Regions from separate parts of the Homo sapiens genome. Here all the other regions are linked to region 2. Evidence: promoter capture Hi-C in 16 types of primary human blood cells and fetal thymus (Javierre and others, 2016). All regions are on one chromosome and are shown on one strand. Each heading gives the region's core, a stretch centred on a gene start or on the middle of the fragment in contact. The rest is flanking DNA. Distances are from core to core; before and after follow the strand shown.

Region 1 (2,818 bases), core at 289-2,788, 2.3 Mb before region 2:
AGAACTGCCTGGAAAAGAATTCAAAATAAGTGTCTTAAATAATCTCAGTGAACTATTAAAGAACACAGAAAGAAAGCCACATGATATCGTGAAAACAATACATGAACAAAATGAGAACTTCAACAAAGACATAGAGATGATAAAAGAAAATAAATTTTGGAGCTGAAGGACACAATGACCGAACTGAAAAATTTCAGAGGAAACTTCAACAGCAGACTTGATCAGGTAGAAGAAGAGGCATCTGTGTGCACAAAGAGAGATCGTTTGAAATTATCCAGTCAGAGGAACAAAAAAAAAACAGAAATAATTTTTTAAAAGTAAAGAGAACTTAGGGAACTTATGAACATCATCAAACATACCAATATATGCTTTATGGGATTTCTACAAAGAGAAGAGGAAGAGAAAGTGGTAGAAAACTTATTTAAGGAAATAATGGTTGAAAACTTCCCACATCTGGGAAGGGAAATAGACATCCAGTTTTATGAAGCCCAGATAACCCCAATTACCCAATTAGAAGAGTAAAGAGAAAAAAGAATTTAAAAAAAGAGTGAACAGGGCCTACAAGAATTGTGGGGCGCCATCAAGTGAACTAATTTCCACATAATAGACATTCCCAAAGGAGACAAAAGAGAAAAGGCCTAGAAAGCATACTTAAATAAATAATGGATAAAATTTTCCCAAATCTGAAAAAAAAATGACACCATCCAGGTACAAGAAGCTCAGAAGTTACCAATAAAATTCAGCCCAAAGAGGAAATCCCAAAGGCACATTATAATCAAATTTAAAAAAATCAAAGACAAAGAAAGAATGTTTAAAGCAGCAAGATAAAAGAAACAAACCAAATGCAAGAGATACCCAATACAGCTTTCAGTGGATTTCTCAGCAGAAACCTTGCAGGCAAGGACAGAGTGGAATGCTGTATTTGATGTGCTAAAGGAAAAAACTACCAACCGAGCATACTGTGCCTAGCATAGCTATTCTTCAGATACTAAGGAAAGATAGACTTTCCCACACAAACAAAAGCAGAAGGAATTCATCATCACCAAATCTGTGTTACAAGAAATGCCCAAGGGAGTTCTTCAATTTGAAAGAAATGGTTGCTAACATGTAACAAGAAAATATCTAAGGGTATTAAACTCACTAATAAAAGAAAAAAAGACAAATTCAGAATATCCTAATACTGCAATTGGGGCAAGTAAATCACTTATTTCTTAAGTATGAAGACAGAAGACAAAACTATTAAACATGATGGTAACTACAACAATTGGTTAAAAGATAGGCAATATAAAAAGATGTAAATTGAAACATGAAAAAGTCAAGATGGGGCATATTAGTGGAGAGTTTATTTTTGTTACTTTTATTCTTTGCAGTCAAATTAAGTCATTATCAATTTAAAATAACCTGTTATAACTATAAGATGTTTTTTGTACACATGGTAAACACAAAGCAAAAACCTGTAATAGATATACTAAAAATAAGTGGCACAGAATCAAAACATACTACTAGAAAAAATCACTTAACCATGAAGGAAGACAGTAATAGAGGGAAAAAGAAGAAAAGGTCTAAAAAAAACCCAGAAAACAAATAAAGTGGTGGTAATAAACCCTTACCTATCAATAATAACCTTGAATATAAATGGATTAAATTATCCAGTTAAAAGACAAAGAATGACTGAATGGATAAAAAACAAGACCCATGGCCGGGCACAGTGGCTCATGCCTGTAATCCCAGCACTTTTGGAGGCCGAGGTGGGTGGATCACAAGGTCAGGAGTTTGAGATCAGCCTGGCCAACATGATGAAACCCCATCTCTACTAAAAACACAAAAATTAGCCAGGCATGGTGGCAAGCGTGTGTAATCCCAGCTACTCAGGAGCTGAGGCAGGAGAATCACTTGAACCCGGGAGGCAAAGGTTGCAGTGAGCGAAGATTGCGCCACTGCACTCCAGCCTGGGTGACAGAGTGAGACTTCATCTCAAACAAACAAACAACAACAAAAACAAGACCCAACTATATGCTATCTACAAGAAACTCATTTCACCTAAACCTATGTGATACAGCAAAAGCATCTCAAAGAGGGAAGCTCGGCAATAAATGCCTACATAAAAGGTAGAACCAGTGGAGGAATGTGGAACCATGGCCACTATAGTTGCTCTTTGCAGTGGTCTGGGGAGGAAGAAGTTGACACACCTTGTAATGGCTGCTGTTAGCCTTACACATCCCAGGACTCATATGGTGCTATGGAGAAGAGGTTGTTCACAATATAAACAGATATCCAGCAATGAGGACCTGCCCATTCCAATGGAAAATTCTTATAAAGAAGCCCTTAAGAAATGTATCTTGTGTGGAAAGCAGGTAGATTTTAAGAATGTACAGCGTCCCAGTTTATTTCTCCATTTGTTGGATGCATTTGTGGAAGGCACAAAACAGGTCTTTGTGGGAAGAAACAGAAAGAAATCACAAAAGCAATTAAGAGAGCTCAAATAATGGGGTTTCTGCCAGTTACATCCAAGGATGCTGCATATCTCAAGGACCCTAAAGTTTGTAACATCAGATATCAGGAGTAAATTATATCATGTTACCACCGATAAACTTATTTTACAGGTAAAAAAAAAAGGTAGAAAGACTTCAAATAACCCAATGACACACCTCAAGGAACTAGAAAAGCAAGAACAAAGCCAATGCAAAATAATTAGAAGGAAAAAATAATAAACATTAGAGCAGAAAAAAATTAAATTGAAACCAAAGAAAACCATATAAAAGATCATTGTTGTTTCGTTTTGCTTTGTGTTTTAGTTTAAAGAGAGTTTATTCAAGCA
Region 2 (3,054 bases), core at 501-3,000:
AATTTAGGTATGCCAAACGGAAGCTATGAAGTGCTTCCTTGAAGGAAAAAGGTGAAAGTTCTTGACTTAATAAGGAAAGAAAAAATCGCATGCTGAGATTGCTAAGATATATGGCAAAAACAAAACTATCTGTGAAATTGTGAAGAAGGAGAATGAAAGGGATACATGGTATATATAAGGTTTGGTGCTGTCTCCAGGTTCGGGCATCGAGAGTTTTGGAATGTATCCCCTGCAGGTAAGGTGGGGGGGGCTACTGTATCATCAAGCACCCTTAAAAATCTGACTGTTTTGAAAAGAGTTTCCTGGGAATAACAACATCCCTTAAGTGTCCAGAAAATCACTGAAACTTTACCCCCAAATTCTTCTATTATTGTTTAAGGCAATAATAACATTGGGAGTGTGTACATACCTTCTCTTGGGTCCATAAATTACCAAATTTGAGGACCCCTGGCTAAGGGTACCTGGGAAGGAGTGGGGTGTACCCTTCATCGTCCTCATCTGCCCCCTGGTGGCACGTTTTGTCACTCTGGACTCCTGCCGTAGGCTGCCAACAGCCTATTTAAACGAAACATCCTTGATATTTAGTGCTTTGTATATTTCCAGAAAGCTTTTCAATTACTGAGATTATCACTTCCTCTCACCATAAAGTTGTATAGCATTGCCCAATAATACTATTGTCATCTGCTTTATCTGTTAATACTTGATTTGTCTCATATTTAAACTGATTTTTGTCACGAGAAGTTTCCCCAGAAATTTTTTTATTCTTTGCCTGTTTTTCCTATATATCCAAATATATCAATTTTTGATCTATTTATATACCCATTTTGTTATCTTCAGGTGCGTTATTTGGTTTTCATTTTTTAAATTTCTTTCCCATTCTGCAGATGAAAAATACTGAGAAACCTACTCTGTTCCTGCATCCGAGCCATTCCACAGGCAGTTTTCCCATACTAAAAATGCTGTCTTCCACTGATGTGTGGCATGTCTCAGTTCCGTGACTTCTTTTCCTCTCTCTCTACTCGCTGCTGTCCCTTTTCTCCATGTGTCTCTAACATGCCTGTGTTCTTCAAGACCCAGTGCAACCACATTCCCTCCCACAACTCTATTTTCATGAGGAATAGCCAAGCAGGACTCCCAAGACATCATACAGGAGTGCCTACAGGGTATCTCTCCTTGGCAGTCCCACAGCACCGCAAATGCCCTGTGTCTGCCAATACTCATCAGCCTCTCTTCCCGTGTGCCTCTCCTGGGACCCTAAGAGAGTAACAGTCCCTGCAACTTCCCACTTTCTCCAGGCAGGGACTTGTGTGCCTTTTCCATGTCTTTGACTCCTTTATTCAATTATAATACAGGTATCTGTCTGCTATAACTCCTGGAACTCTCTTATGTAAATGCGCTTTTTTCATTCTCCGCCTCACATCTTAGCCCAGACCACACCATCTCCCCCCGCCGTCTTGGATACCTTCCATGTTTCCAGTGGTCTGCTCCCACTCCACACTGCAGTACAGTGATTTTTCTAAAACATGGATGGGTTCCTGTCACTCCCCTGTGAAAAGTCATCCATGTGGAGTCTGACTGGTCTGCATTTGGGGACTGGACAGAGTGAGAAGGGATCCTGTGTCAGCCAGGACTCCGGTAGACGCCCCTATGCAATATCCACTTGTGGTGGTCGGGGGCGGGGAAGGGGCGGGATTGAGCCCCCTTCCCCCCTCCTCCTTACTGCGGAAAGCTGCGGAGCGAGCAGCACTCACTTCCTATTCAGCATTCAGCAGGGAGGGAGCCTCTGAACAGCCACGTAGGCATTCTCTTCTCTCTGGAGGAAAAGGCCCAGCAGCTGTCCGAGGAAAAGACCCACCAGCTGTCAGCAAAGGGACATGTCGCAGCTAAGTAAGAATCTGGGTGACTCGAGTCCTCCGGCGGAGGCCCCGAAGCCGCCTGTCTATAGCCGCCCTACGGTTCTGATGCGGGCCCCGCCCGCTTCCTCCCGGGCTCCGCCAGTCCCTTGGGATCCACCTCCAATTGACTTGCAGGCTTCATTGGCCGCTTGGCAGGCACCTCAGCCTGCCTGGGAGGCCCCACAGGGCCAGCTGCCCGCCCCGGTGGTTCCGATGACCCAGCCTCCTGCCCTAGGGGGCCCGATAGTCCCGGCTCCCCCGCTGGGGGGCCCGATGGGTAAGCCTCCGACTCCCGGGGTCCTGATGGTGCATCCTCCACCTCCGGGAGCCCCGATGGCCCAGCCTCCGACCCCGGGAGTCCTGATGGTGCATCCTTCAGCTCCCGGAGCTCCCATGGCCCATCCTCCTCCTCCGGGGACCCCAATGTCCCACCCTCCCCCTCCGGGGACCCCAATGGCCCATCCTCCTCCTCCGGGGACCCCGATGGCCCATCCTCCTCCTCCGGGGACCCCGATGGTGCATCCTCCTCCTCCGGGGACCCCGATGGCTCATCCTCCCCCTCCGGGGACACCGATGGCTCATCCTCCCCCTCCGGGGACACCGATGGCTCATCCTCCACCTCCGGGGACACCGATGGCTCATCCTCCCCCTCCGGGTACACCGATGGCCCAGCCTCCAGCTCCGGGAGTCCTGATGGCCCAGCCTCTGACTCCGGGAGTCCTGATGGTCCAGCCTGCTGCTCCGGGAGCACCGATGGTCCAGCCGCCTCCAGCAGCCATGATGACCCAGCCTCAGCCTTCAGGAGCACCGATGGCCAAGCCTCCAGGTCCAGGAGTCCTGATGATTCATCCTCCAGGTGCGAGAGCTCCGATGACCCAGCCTCCAGCTTCAGGAGCACCGATGGCACAGCCGGCGGCCCCACCTGCACAGCCGATGGCCCCACCTGCACAGCCGATGGCTTCTTGGGCCCCGCAGGCTCAGCCTCTGATCCTGCAAATCCAGTCTCAAGTTATAAGGGCTCCTCCGCAGGTTCCCCAGGGCCCGCAGGCACCCCCAGCGCAGCTAGCCACACCCCCGGGCTGGCAGGCGACCTCGCCAGGATGGCAGGCCACGCAGCAAGGCTGGCAGGCCACTCCCCTGACTTGGCAGACCACGCAGG
Region 3 (2,935 bases), core at 221-2,720, 2.1 Mb before region 2:
GCATATATTTCATCCCTATCTTCTTTATTTTTTAATATTGTCTTTCACAAAAGCTTTTAGTTTTGATAAATTTTTATTCTTGTTAAATTTTTATTTTATTATTTTATCTTTTTGGAGATGAGGTCTCACTCTGTTATCCAGGCTGGAGTGCAGTGGTGCCATCGCAACTCATTACAGCCTCAACCTCCCAGGCTCAAGGGATCCTCCTGCCTCAGCATCCCTAGTACCTGGGACCACAGGAGCGCACAAGCATACCTGGCTAATTTTTTATTTTTTTAAGAGATGGGATGCCCCAGCGTTGCCCAGGCTGGTGTCAAAATCCTGAACTCAAGTGATTGTCCTGCCTCGGCCTCTCAAAGTGCTGAGATTATAGACTTGAGCCACTGTGCCTGGTCTGATTGGTCATTTTTTTTAAATTTTATGTATCATGCATTTGGTGTCATGTCTAAGATGTGCCTAATTATGAATATTTTCTCCTGTGTTTTATTCTAAAAGCATTACACGTTAACATCTTATCTATAGATACAGTCCATTTTGGGTCACATTTCATGAAAGGTGTGAGGGTTAGGTTAGACTTCATCTTTCCACATGTGGCTGCCCAGTTCCTCCAGTGCCATTTGTTGAAAGCGTCTTCTTTTGGTTGAAAGCGTCTTTGTCAAAAATCAGTTAGTTACATTTGTGTGGGTCTGTTTCTAGACTTTCTGTTCTGTTCCATTCATTTGTTTGTCTATCCCTTCACCAATACGACGTGTATTGATTCATTGTAGTAGTTTGATTACTGTAGTTTTTTATAAGTCTTAAAAATTGGTAGTGTTATTCCTCCAACTTTATTCTATTTCAAAATTGTTTTGGCTAGTCTTCTTATTTGTTGCCTTCGTATATGAATTTTAAATTAATTTTTCTGTTCAGAAATTCCTGCTGGAGCTTTTATTTGAATTTTGTTAAATTTATAAATCAATTTGGGAAGCATTGATATTTTTATTATGTTGATCTTCCACTCTGTAAACATGGTATATCTCTACATTTTTTAGGTCTTCTTTTATTTCTTTTATCAGCATTTTATAGTTTTCAGCATACACATCATATACATGTTTTGTTAGATACATACCCAAGCACTGATGCTCCTCAACTTATGATGGGGTTATGTCCCAATAAACCTATCATAGGTCAAAAAAATCATAAGTTGAAAATGTATTTAATACCCCAAAAGACCCATCCAAAAGTTGAAAATTTGTAAATTGAACCATTGTAAGTCAGGGACCATCTGTACAACATTTTTTGTAGGTTTTGTAAGTAGTATTTTTAAATTTTTATTTTCCATCAGTTTATAGTACAGTTGACCCTTGAACACGTAGGGGTTAGGGATACCAATCCCTCCATGTAGTCAAAAATCCACATATAACTTTTGACTCTCCAAAAACTTGACTATTCATAGCCTACTGTTGACCAGAAGCCTTACTGATAACAAATAGTCAATTACCACCTATTCTGTATATTGTATGTATTATATGCTGTATTCTTACAATAAAGTAAGCTAGAGAAAAGAAAATGTTATCAAGAAAATCTTAAGGAAGAGAAAATATATTTACTATTCATTAAGTGAAAGCGGATCTTCACTGACTCTTTCCTTGGTCGTGTCTATTCTCCCATTGGGCCCATCCAGAGAGTTTTCAAAAATAAACTTTATATATAGAATTGTTTCAAATTTAGAGAAAAACTGTGAGGATAGTACAGACTTATTTCTCATGTATGCCATACATAATTTATTGTTACTGATCTTACATTAGCCTAGTACATTTATCACATTAAGGAGCCAATGTTGATACATCATTACTTTCTGAAGTTCATACATTGCCTTAGTTTTTACCTAGTGTCCTTTTTTTGTTCTGGGATCCCATCCAGAACACTACATTACATTTTGTCATCATGCCTCCTTACACTCTTCTTGGCTGTGACACTTCGGTAAACTTTCTTTATTTTTAATCATTTTGACCATTTTGAAGAGTGCTGGCCAGGTATTTTGTAGAATGCCCTTATATTGGGATTTGTCTGATGTTTTTCTTATCACTAAAGTGGAGCTAAGGGTTTTAGGGAGGACAGCCACAGAGGTCAAGTGCCATTTTCATCATATCCTATCAAGGGTACATGCTGTCAACACCATGTCACTGTTGGGGTTGACCTTTCAGTCACTGTACTCTTTGCCTCTTCCCATACTGAATTCTTCCGAAGGAAGTCACTGTGCACAGCTCACAGTTAAGGAGTGTGGAGTTATAGTTTTCTCCTTGAGGGCAGAGTATCTACATAGATGATTTAGAATCCAGTGAGCTTTTTATTTCAGTTAATGTATTTCTGTCACAAATTTCTATTTGGTTCTCTGAAATATCTTCCTTCTTTTTGGCCAAGACTGTCTGTCTCTCTGTTCATTTCCAGCATGTTCAATCTTACTTCTTGGAACTTTTGGATAATGGCTGTTTTCGTCTTTCTTTGTCGATAATGTCAGTATCTGTGTCATCTTGACATTGGCTTCTGTGGATTGTCTTTTTCCACAGAGTTAAGATTTTCCTGGTTCTTTGTATGCTAAGAAGTTTTGGATTGTATCATGGGCATTTCGAATATTATGTTATGACACTGGCCATTTTTAATTTCTATGGAGAATGTGGATTTTTTTTAAGCAGGTGATCAACCCTGTGGGGTTTGGGCTGTGAGCTCTGGGTGTTGGTTTCAAAGGCAGATGTGTTTATAAGACCTAGTCTTGCATTTTTGCCCTCCAGAGGTCACCTTGGAACTTGGGTGGCAGTCTGTTGCAGAGTTTGCCTCTCAAAGGCTTTGTTATGGGTGAGCCCAGGAATTCATTAACAACATTATGGGGTCAGTTAGCCAAGCTTCTCTTTACAATTTTTCCAGCGCCTCTGGTTCCCCAAGAATCCCCTTTTCA

What was found. Contacts are between HindIII fragments. The CHiCAGO score rates a contact against its expected background, and 5 or more counts as called.
Region 1: a fragment that was not itself captured here is called in contact with the fragment with the promoter of MAGEL2 in region 2 in 1 of 17 cell types (monocytes); the score reaches 5.5 in monocytes.
Region 3: a fragment that was not itself captured here is called in contact with the fragment with the promoter of MAGEL2 in region 2 in 3 of 17 cell types (M1 macrophages, M0 macrophages and M2 macrophages); the score reaches 11.3 in M1 macrophages.

Annotation. Positions count from the first base shown.
Region 1 is chr15:25,927,894-25,930,711 of GRCh38, reverse strand. All of the region lies in intron 1 of LINC02346 (long intergenic non-protein coding RNA 2346), which reads right to left. It also overlaps the pseudogene MRPS18CP5. Among named protein-coding and RNA genes, the nearest start is that of LINC02346, 27 kb to the right of the region's middle. RefSeq lists an enhancer at 1-246. The HindIII fragment of the contact is 7,826 bases long and covers 1-2,818 here.
Region 2 is chr15:23,646,563-23,649,616 of GRCh38, reverse strand. It overlaps MAGEL2 (MAGE family member L2), which reads left to right and starts at 1,750. Exons shown (of 1, transcript NM_019066.5): 1 at 1,750-3,054. The coding sequence starts at 1,875. RefSeq lists an enhancer at 2,463-3,054. The HindIII fragment of the contact is 5,160 bases long and covers 610-3,054 here.
Region 3 is chr15:25,697,047-25,699,981 of GRCh38, reverse strand. All of the region lies in intron 13 of ATP10A (ATPase phospholipid transporting 10A (putative)), which reads left to right. Among named protein-coding and RNA genes, the nearest start is that of LINC02250, 120 kb to the right of the region's middle. RefSeq lists an enhancer at 2,769-2,935. The HindIII fragment of the contact is 2,829 bases long and covers 56-2,884 here.